Linked DNA regions of Homo sapiens: region 2 is linked to region 1. The links are contacts of gene promoters, found by promoter capture Hi-C in blood cells and fetal thymus (Javierre and others, 2016). All regions are on one chromosome and are shown on one strand. The core of a region is centred on a gene start or on the middle of the fragment in contact, and the rest is flanking DNA. Distances in the headings are between cores, read along the strand shown.

Evidence for each region. The method cuts DNA at HindIII sites, captures the fragments that hold promoters and counts their contacts. A CHiCAGO score of 5 or more calls a contact.
Region 2: a contact is called between a fragment that was not itself captured here and the fragment with the promoter of DST in region 1, in 6 of 17 cell types (erythroblasts, total CD4 T cells, total CD8 T cells and 3 more). The highest score is 8.1, in erythroblasts.

What each region holds. Positions count from the first base shown.
Region 1 is chr6:56,953,097-56,957,195 of GRCh38, reverse strand. It overlaps DST (dystonin), which reads left to right and starts at 2,366. Exons shown (of 104, transcript NM_001374736.1): 1 at 2,366-2,789; 2 at 3,377-3,411. The coding sequence starts at 2,609. It overlaps BEND6 (BEN domain containing 6), which reads right to left and starts at 2,089. Exons shown (of 7, transcript NM_152731.3): 1 at 1,736-2,089. RefSeq lists a silencer at 1,901-2,590 and an enhancer at 2,752-3,383. The HindIII fragment of the contact is 5,182 bases long and covers 797-4,099 here.
Region 2 is chr6:57,512,606-57,516,704 of GRCh38, reverse strand. All of the region lies in intron 8 of PRIM2 (DNA primase subunit 2), which reads right to left. Among named protein-coding and RNA genes, the nearest start is that of MIR548U, 120 kb to the right of the region's middle. The HindIII fragment of the contact is 804 bases long and covers 1,642-2,445 here.

The sequences.
Region 1 (4,099 bases), core at 1,117-3,616:
GCTGCAGCAAGACGCAGGATGATAACAGTTGTGCTAAAGTCATAGCTCAGAAAACCATAATAGCTATTTAGTTGCTTTTTGTTGTTAAAAAAATATAGCGTTTGGGGCAATTTGAATACTATTCTGTGTGTCTTTGACATGTTTCTGTTCAAGGATACGTAGGCTATTTCAGCTCACTTACAAATTTCAGTCAATGAGAAGCATAAAGATGACCTTCCAAAATTCTGTTAGTTATTTCCCCCAATGTCTGCACACGGTTAGTTCAGTTTTGTTGTTTAAAATTACTCCACCATGCCATTGTTGAGTCAATGCGGTGGAGAATTCTTCCTTTCCTGATGTGCCACACATTGCAAACTCTCAGGATTTTCTTCAATAACCTCTGCATAATTGTTGAATAGTTTCTCACTGCAGTGGGCTGCGGTATCAAGAAACCTTTAGCCATATGCACATGATGTAGTGCTACCTGTCACCCACTCTGAGTGCTAGAGACCCATGAAGCCTATCCTGGAATTCAGTGCAGCCTACATGCTGCCATTCAAAATTCCCACCTTATGCAGTGTCTCCAAGCAAGGGCCCTTCTGAGTTCAATCCAAAACAACTGAATGAATGAGATGCAACATGTCAACAATTCGAATGTTTATTTTGTTTAAGGAAACCAGCTGTAAACAAAACGTATCTGTTGTTTTCCATGCTTATGAATCTGGCACTAAGAGACTGCATTAACCAATGCCTTTTTAGGTTTAATACTTACACACGGTAATATGTTACTGGCTTTAAGGACATCAATGATTAAGCTTTCATGCAGAGCTGTACGGTTTTGTATAGTTGGAAAACAACACTGATTTTGAGATCACTACAAGCAAATAAAACTTTTATTCCTCCCAATTATTTACCTGCTTTTCAAATTTTTATAAATTTTTATGACACAATTTCTTCAGTCTATTAAATATTCCAAAAAAGAGGCTAATACAGTTGTTATAAGAAACTCCGCAAATGCAGTCAAGTGTTACCTTGTCACTATAATTAAAGTTTTCTTATGCGAGTAAATGAAACAAACAATCCAGCCCCACACAGGGAAAGCCAGCATTGCCTTGGGGGCAGCAGAACGCGGCACAGCACCGCCCGCCAAGGCCGCAAGATGCCGCAGAATGACTGCTGCAGCAGCCGCTTCCTGGCCAGGTGGCCGTGGCCGTCCGCAGAAAGGCACACTGCAGCGCTCTCGCTATACCTTCCGTGCTGGCATTGCATCAGTGTTAAATCCCCTGGCCACCAACTGCCATATACTTTTTGCTGGTTATGAAGAAACGTGGGGAGGGGACAAAGGGGAGACAGAGTGTGCCTGCAAGTGTGAGAGATCACTATTGCCTCACACTCCCTAAAAAATTTCTCCCCCAAATGTTTATAAGCCAAGTACCAACTTACTTCATCTGCCAGGTCCCTAAATCTGAAATCGCCTTGCCCTTCAAATGCACTAAATGAGTCAGGGTTTTAGGGCAAACCCAGGGATACAAGAAGATCGAAAGTGCCCAATTCTTAGCTGCGAGATAAGCACCAAGTTTGGGGTGGAAGAGTTCACCTCTGCCGACCAGAGCGTACTACCCCGGAGCGCTCCTAGTTTAGAGAGGCTTGGAGAGGAGTGGGCCTCCCGTTCCTGGAGTATCCCAATTCCCAGGGAAGGCCCTTCCCGGCGCTCGCGCTTCAGAGTGCGAGGAAACCCCCACAAGCAATAGCTCACCCGGCTGCATTCTTCAAAGCCCCAACCTCGGGGCGGGGCGCAGGGAGGTGGGAGGTGGAGGGTAGCACCGCCGGGAGGCTCCTGTCAGCGCCTCTCGGTTTTCCCCCTGGCTCCTTGGCGCCCCCTGACGACGGGCTCCGCAGCAATTTGGCCGAGGGAGGCTGGATAGGCGGAAGCTCCGGGTGTCCGGGAAGCTAGAGGCACCCGGCCAATGCACCCGCGGACGGCGCGGACTGGCGGGCGGCCCCGCGGGAGGGCGCTGGGCTCTCAGGCCCGGGTGCAGCCCGCGGACGCCGCCGAAACCGCCGCAGCCATGTCCGCGCGCCCGCGCTGCCGCAGCCTGGCCGTGATGTCATCAGCCGAGCCCCCGCCGCGGCGCCCCATTCCCGCCCCCCGCAGGCTGCCGCGGCTGCAGCCTGAGCGCCGCGTCCCCGCCCCGACCCACGTGCGCCCGGCTTCTGGGATGCTGAGGTCGGCGGCGGCCGCAGGACGATGCGCGGGGCCCGGGCGGCCGCGGCGGCGGCGCTGCTCCTCCCCACTCGCCGCGTCCCCGGCGGGGCTGCGCCCGGGGGCTGCGCACGGACGGGGGCGGGGGCGCCTGGGGAGGGAGGGGAGAGGATCCCAGCCGCCGAGTCGCAGCCTCGTCGCTGTCTGCTGAGTCATGGCAAGCGCTCCCCGCAGCCCTGGATCACTCGCGTAGCGCGGCTGGCGCGGGGTGCGCAGCCATTGGGCTGGGCGCGGGGCCGCGAGCGCCAGGCATGACGCGCTGAGCCGCGCTCACCCGTGCCCGCCGTCCCGGCGTGCGCCCAGCGCGGGTGCCTGTGCCGCCGCCCTCCAGCCCCGCCGTCGAGTCGCCCTCGCCTCGCCCGCACCATGATCGCCGCGGCTTTCCTCGTCTTGCTGAGACCCTACAGCATCCAATGTGCCCTCTTCCTCTTGTTGCTTCTGCTGGGCACCATCGCCACCATCGTCTTCTTCTGCTGCTGGCACCGCAAGCTCCAGAAAGGGAGGCATCCGATGAAATCGGTCTTCTCGGGTCGTTCAAGAAGCCGAGGTAAGACACGCCGCGACGGGTTTCTGCGGGCTACCAGGAACAATTAAGCCGATTTGGAGAGTGAAGCGCGGCTCGCTCCCTTCTCCTCGGCTGCCCCTAGCCCCATCATTGCCCACTCCCCAGGCTGAGTGCGTTTCTTTAACGCCCCTTGCCCTTTTTGCCGTCACCTCCGCCCTCCAGTCTCCCAGGTTTGAATAACCACGGCGATGCCGAGGGCAGGGAGGGGAGGAAAGAACTCAAATTTTTAGTCAGTTTGCTAAAGCCTTAAGGGTAATTTGAGCGTAGTCCGGGGCTGCGCCAGCCTCGCCTTCACGCATCCTTCGCTGGAGCGTAGGGGTAAGAAAGTAAGGCATGGAAACTTCGGGGCTCCCCAACTCCCCCAGAACTTTCATGCAAACTTCTCGCGGAGAAATCACGTAGAGACCGATGGCCCCAGGACTCCTCCTCCCTCCCCCAGGATGTCCCACCGAATTCCAGGAGTCTGCGATGTGCTTTCCCAACCCTGGTCTCCCAGGTAAGTCATGAGTCACTCGGTAGGTGAAGAACAAGGAGTTAAATGAAGTCTCATTTATCTCTTTTCTCCCCAGATGCTGTTTTGAGATCGCACCACTTTCGTTCTGAGGTAATTTATTTAGCGCGCACGCTCAAGGTCAGAAGAAGTTCTCTTTCCTGAGTACCAATATTAATTATATGCGTGTTAAGAAACCAGTAGGACACTGAATGACGAACATGCTGTCCCCTAGCCGAAAGTGGCATGTTTCCTTTTAAGTGATTTCATATTAGTGCCCAGCGAACGGTTTTAGCAAATTTCTTGTGTAGTGGAGCTGTTGTACAAGAGGGGAAAAGGCAAACCCTAAAAGTGCTGCAGACCTTAAAAAACTTAGCCACAGGGTGGATGTCACTTGAGTTTACAGTTTATATTTTGCTGGTGGAAGTGTTTTCTGGGTGCTGTCAGTTGACTCTGGTTGTTCACTTGGATAAACGAAGAGGTTAGTGCAGAACAATTTGATCCATATGCATTTCATTTTCGATTTTCAAGTTTACATTTCTGTTTTCTCCTAAAGCTCTCCATGTTTTATTGGGGACCATCTGATGATTTTTGCAAAGCGATGATGGTAGTGTGTGCTTAAATGCTTGTGCTAGTCTCCACTCTCAAAACGTGGACCATCCCTCTAGGGCAAGTAACTCCTAATCACTGCACCCAGGAACCAGCTCCACTGAAGAAACACAAGCGCTCCTTGACCTAGGATTTCTTTAGGAGTTTTCAGGCCAACCTCCACTTATCCTAAGATAATTTCCCCTCTTTTTAG
Region 2 (4,099 bases), core at 794-3,293, 560 kb before region 1:
ATGTATTACTGAACAGCTCTCATACAAAGTAACCAGTACATCTCAGCCACTATAATGTAACCTCATTACAAAGTCTACTATTTACAGCAGTGTTTATTTGCCTTGTTCTAGGTAGCTGGTTGATAAGACAGGAAAGAGTTTTCTATCTTCTTTCAATATTAAAAAGAAAATCAGTAACTTTTTATATTTCTGTTAAGAACTCATTTCTTATACCTTTTTTCAACTTTAAGATATATTAAACTAGTAAAGTAAATTAACTACAAAACTCCAGGAAACGTTAGTATTCTACATAAATTAAGAATGGTGACTTACATGTAAAATTGATGAAAAGTGATACAAAAAGCTGTTTTCACTCCATACTCCCACCTCAAAAGAAAACCTTCACTATAAGAGGCCAAATCAGTGACCCTCCACATATGCTCTAATTCCTGGATCCTCTGAATGTGTTAGGTTACACGGTAAAAGGGGCTCTGCAGATGTAATTAAGGTTAAGGATCTTAGATGAAAAGATTATCCTGGATATCCCTGTAGTCTGATCTAATCGCACGGGCCTTTAAAAGCAGAAAACTTTCTCAGGTTGGAGGCAGTGTGACACAGCAGCATAAGTTAGAGAGATCTGAAGCATGGGAAGGCTCTGAGATGGGACCCACAGGCAAGGACTTCAGAGGCCTCTAGGAAATCATGGAAAGCATGAGAAGGAATGTGGGCAGCCTCTAGGAGGAAAGACCAGGCTTCAACTGACAGCCAGCATAAAAACAGGATCTCCAACAACTTAAATAACCTTGGAAGTAAATTCTTCCCCAGAGCCTCCGGTAAGGAATATAAAAGCCTTGCTGACACCTTGATTTTAGCCTGGCAAGACCCATGTCCGATTTCTAACCTACAGACTGTGAGATAATAAATGGGGATTGTTTTAATCCACTAAATGTGTGGCATTTGTTAAGATTGGAATAGAAAACTAATACACTGGTCACTTTTTATTTTCTTTATATAAAAATGCTAGTGTCATCGCTAAATATCAGGGAATGTATATACAATGTACTTACGCACACAGACATATGACACGAGTGATTTTTAAATATTCTAAAGGAGTGTTTGAAAAAATGGGTATAAAGGCTCTAATCTACACACGCTAATAAGCTTTAACATTTGGCTTCCTCAATTCCACCTTTTTCAAGTCACTCGTTCACTTGTTAAGAAATCTGCCACTTTCTCACTTGGGCAAGATGGCATTTTTAGACTAATGAACTTCCCTGTATTTTCAAAGCTATACACTACCTAGGCTGCTGCTGTTCTTTGTTCTTATCTCCATCTGATCTGCTGGAAAACATCTATGTTGCAATTCCTTCTACATAAAGTTACTACAGTATTTCTTCTCAGTTACTTTGCCTGAACACACAGAAACTGTTCACATTCTATAATTTTTTGCCACAGGTTTATTCAATCCCAAAAGCTATACATATCTGATAAAATGGCAATGGCTAAGTAGATATATCTATTCTTGATTGACTATTATGCAGATACTTAAAATTGGAGTCATGAAAATCAATTTTCTACTTTATTACCTAGTTATATTAAGTGAAAATTTTAAAAGTTGACCACTTTATAATTAAAGTATGCATCAAGTTCACAAAAGAAGCTTAGTGTTGGTTGCATTAGGGAGGGAGATGATTTTATATATTGTGACTATACATTTTACCAAAAACATTAAATGACATTAAATTTGTAACATAATCCACATGCAGATACTGCTTCTCATAAAACTTCCTATCACTCTCTTTACTATCTACTTAACTTGCAGCAACTATTCCGGTGCAGCTTTGGGTATGTGTGTGGGTGGGGAGGGGGGTACTGTTTATAAATTTTGGTCCTCTTTCCCCTTAAAAATATAAGCTTCTTGAGTTAAGGGACCACATCTATTAGTTCTTTTGTACATAATCAGTACCAATTATAGTGCCCTTAACACAACGGGCTGATTCTAACAAAATGCTGACTATTCACAAGTATACCTCTAAGAAGGCATTAACATTTTCCATACAGATGTGAAAAAATTGTAATTCAAAGGTGACAATGGAAAACAATATATTCTAATTTATTAATATCTTACACAGCACCTGGAAAACCTTCACTATAATCAGTGAACTATAAAAGCTTGTGCTGCTGCATGTAGAAAAGGAAATAAATGTTCAAGGTACTGCCAGAGACTGGAAACAGGTGATGAGAAAGAGCTAACAAACAACTGAAGCATGTGGACCAGGCTAATGAGGCTTTCATTTCAGCCCTCAACTGATGAAGCCCCTATCTACTAAACCATTTTCTGGCGTTTATTTTCATATTTACCACAATAGACACATGAATGCCCACACAATTTTCTGATTTCAAAATCAGAACTAATTCAAAAAGAAAACAATGATAGCTGTACCACTTTGGATAGTAAGAAAAGCTTTCTTACAGAGATTACATGTCTGATAAAAAATTTGTGAAAGCATATTCTTTAGAAAAATAAGTAGAAATGTGTGCATATTAACAAAATGTACTGCCTTCGGAAAAGGAATTTTACAAAACTAGTAATAATACCAACTGAAGGAAGATGCCTTTATTACTTTAAACGATTTTAAAATAACGGTTTGTATAAACATCTGCTTGCAAAATCAGTATGCACTAAAAGTTAATCCATATGATGCAGTCCAAGTACTTACTATAAGTAATACTTGTTTTAGCTTGCTTTATCTTTGTTTGATTTCTAATTCATTCTTGGGCTGAAATATGCTCGCAAAATTGTGGTGTGACAAATACGCATTTTAAAAATGAGTTATTCTTTAATGACAAAACATTAAATAATAGCAATTGTTGCCCAGCCTGGAGTGCAGTGGCATGATCCTGGCTCACTACAACCTCTGCCTCCTAGGTTCAAGTGATTCTCCTGCCTCAGCCTCCTGAGCAGCTGGGATTACAGGTGCGCGCCACCACAGTGGGCTAATTTTTGTATTTTTAGTAGAGACAGGCTGGTCTTGAACTCCTGGCCTCAAGTGATCTGCCTGCCTCAGCCTCCCAAAGTGCTGGGTTTACAGGCGTAAGCCACCGCGTCCAGCCAATAATAGCAACTATTACAGTGACTTATAATATGCTGTCCCCCAATGCACTTCATATCTTGAAGTCAAGGGATAAAGGAGGAAGATACATACACTGTAGGCGTTATTTTTAAGGGGGAAAAATTCTCAATCATACAACTAAAAGTTATCACATGTATAATATGGGCTGCAAGTTTTCCTCTCTAGTTGTACCTATTTATACTTCATATTTATAAGTGAGATAATAAATAAAAATAAACACCTTTATCATGCACACTTGCTAGCCTAATGCCATTTTTATAAATATTATCCCATGGTACCATCATTAGGATAGCAAAGATACTTATTTACAATAAACTTCTACATTCATGGGAACATATTCCAAGACCTTTATGTATCTCCAAACTACCAAATCAGTGAACGATATAATTCACCCTAGAAAATGCAGTGATATATAACCATGATAATGACAGTAAAGCCACAATGAGATGCAGGCTCCTTAGATTACATATCTAATCATATGCAATTTGGTGAAAGCAGAAATAATGATTTATACAAATTCTCTCTAAACTTTATATTATTGTAAGTCTAAGTAAGTTTATTTCTTCCAATAGAAAAGTTCCTGGTATCAATTTTGAAAAATGGTATAGTCTTATGAAATAATTAATTCATCTCTTTTGAGGAGAGGGAAAGGCAGTATTTTTCATTAGAAAAATCAGGTTTTCTTGGCTGGTGCATGGTGAGCACGGTGGCTCACACCTGTAATCCCAACACTTTGGGAGGCCGAGGCAGGCAGAACACCTGAGGTCTGGAGTTAGAGACCAGTCTGGCCAACATGATGAAACCCCATCCCTACTAAAAATAAAAAATTTATTGGGTGTGGTGGCACATGCCTGTAGTCCCAGCTACTTAGGAAGCTGAGGCAGAAGAATCGCTTGAACCCAGTAGGAGGAGGTTGCAGTAAGCTGAGATCATGCCATTGCACTCCAGCCTGGGCGACAGACAGAGTGAGACTTTGTCTCAAAAAA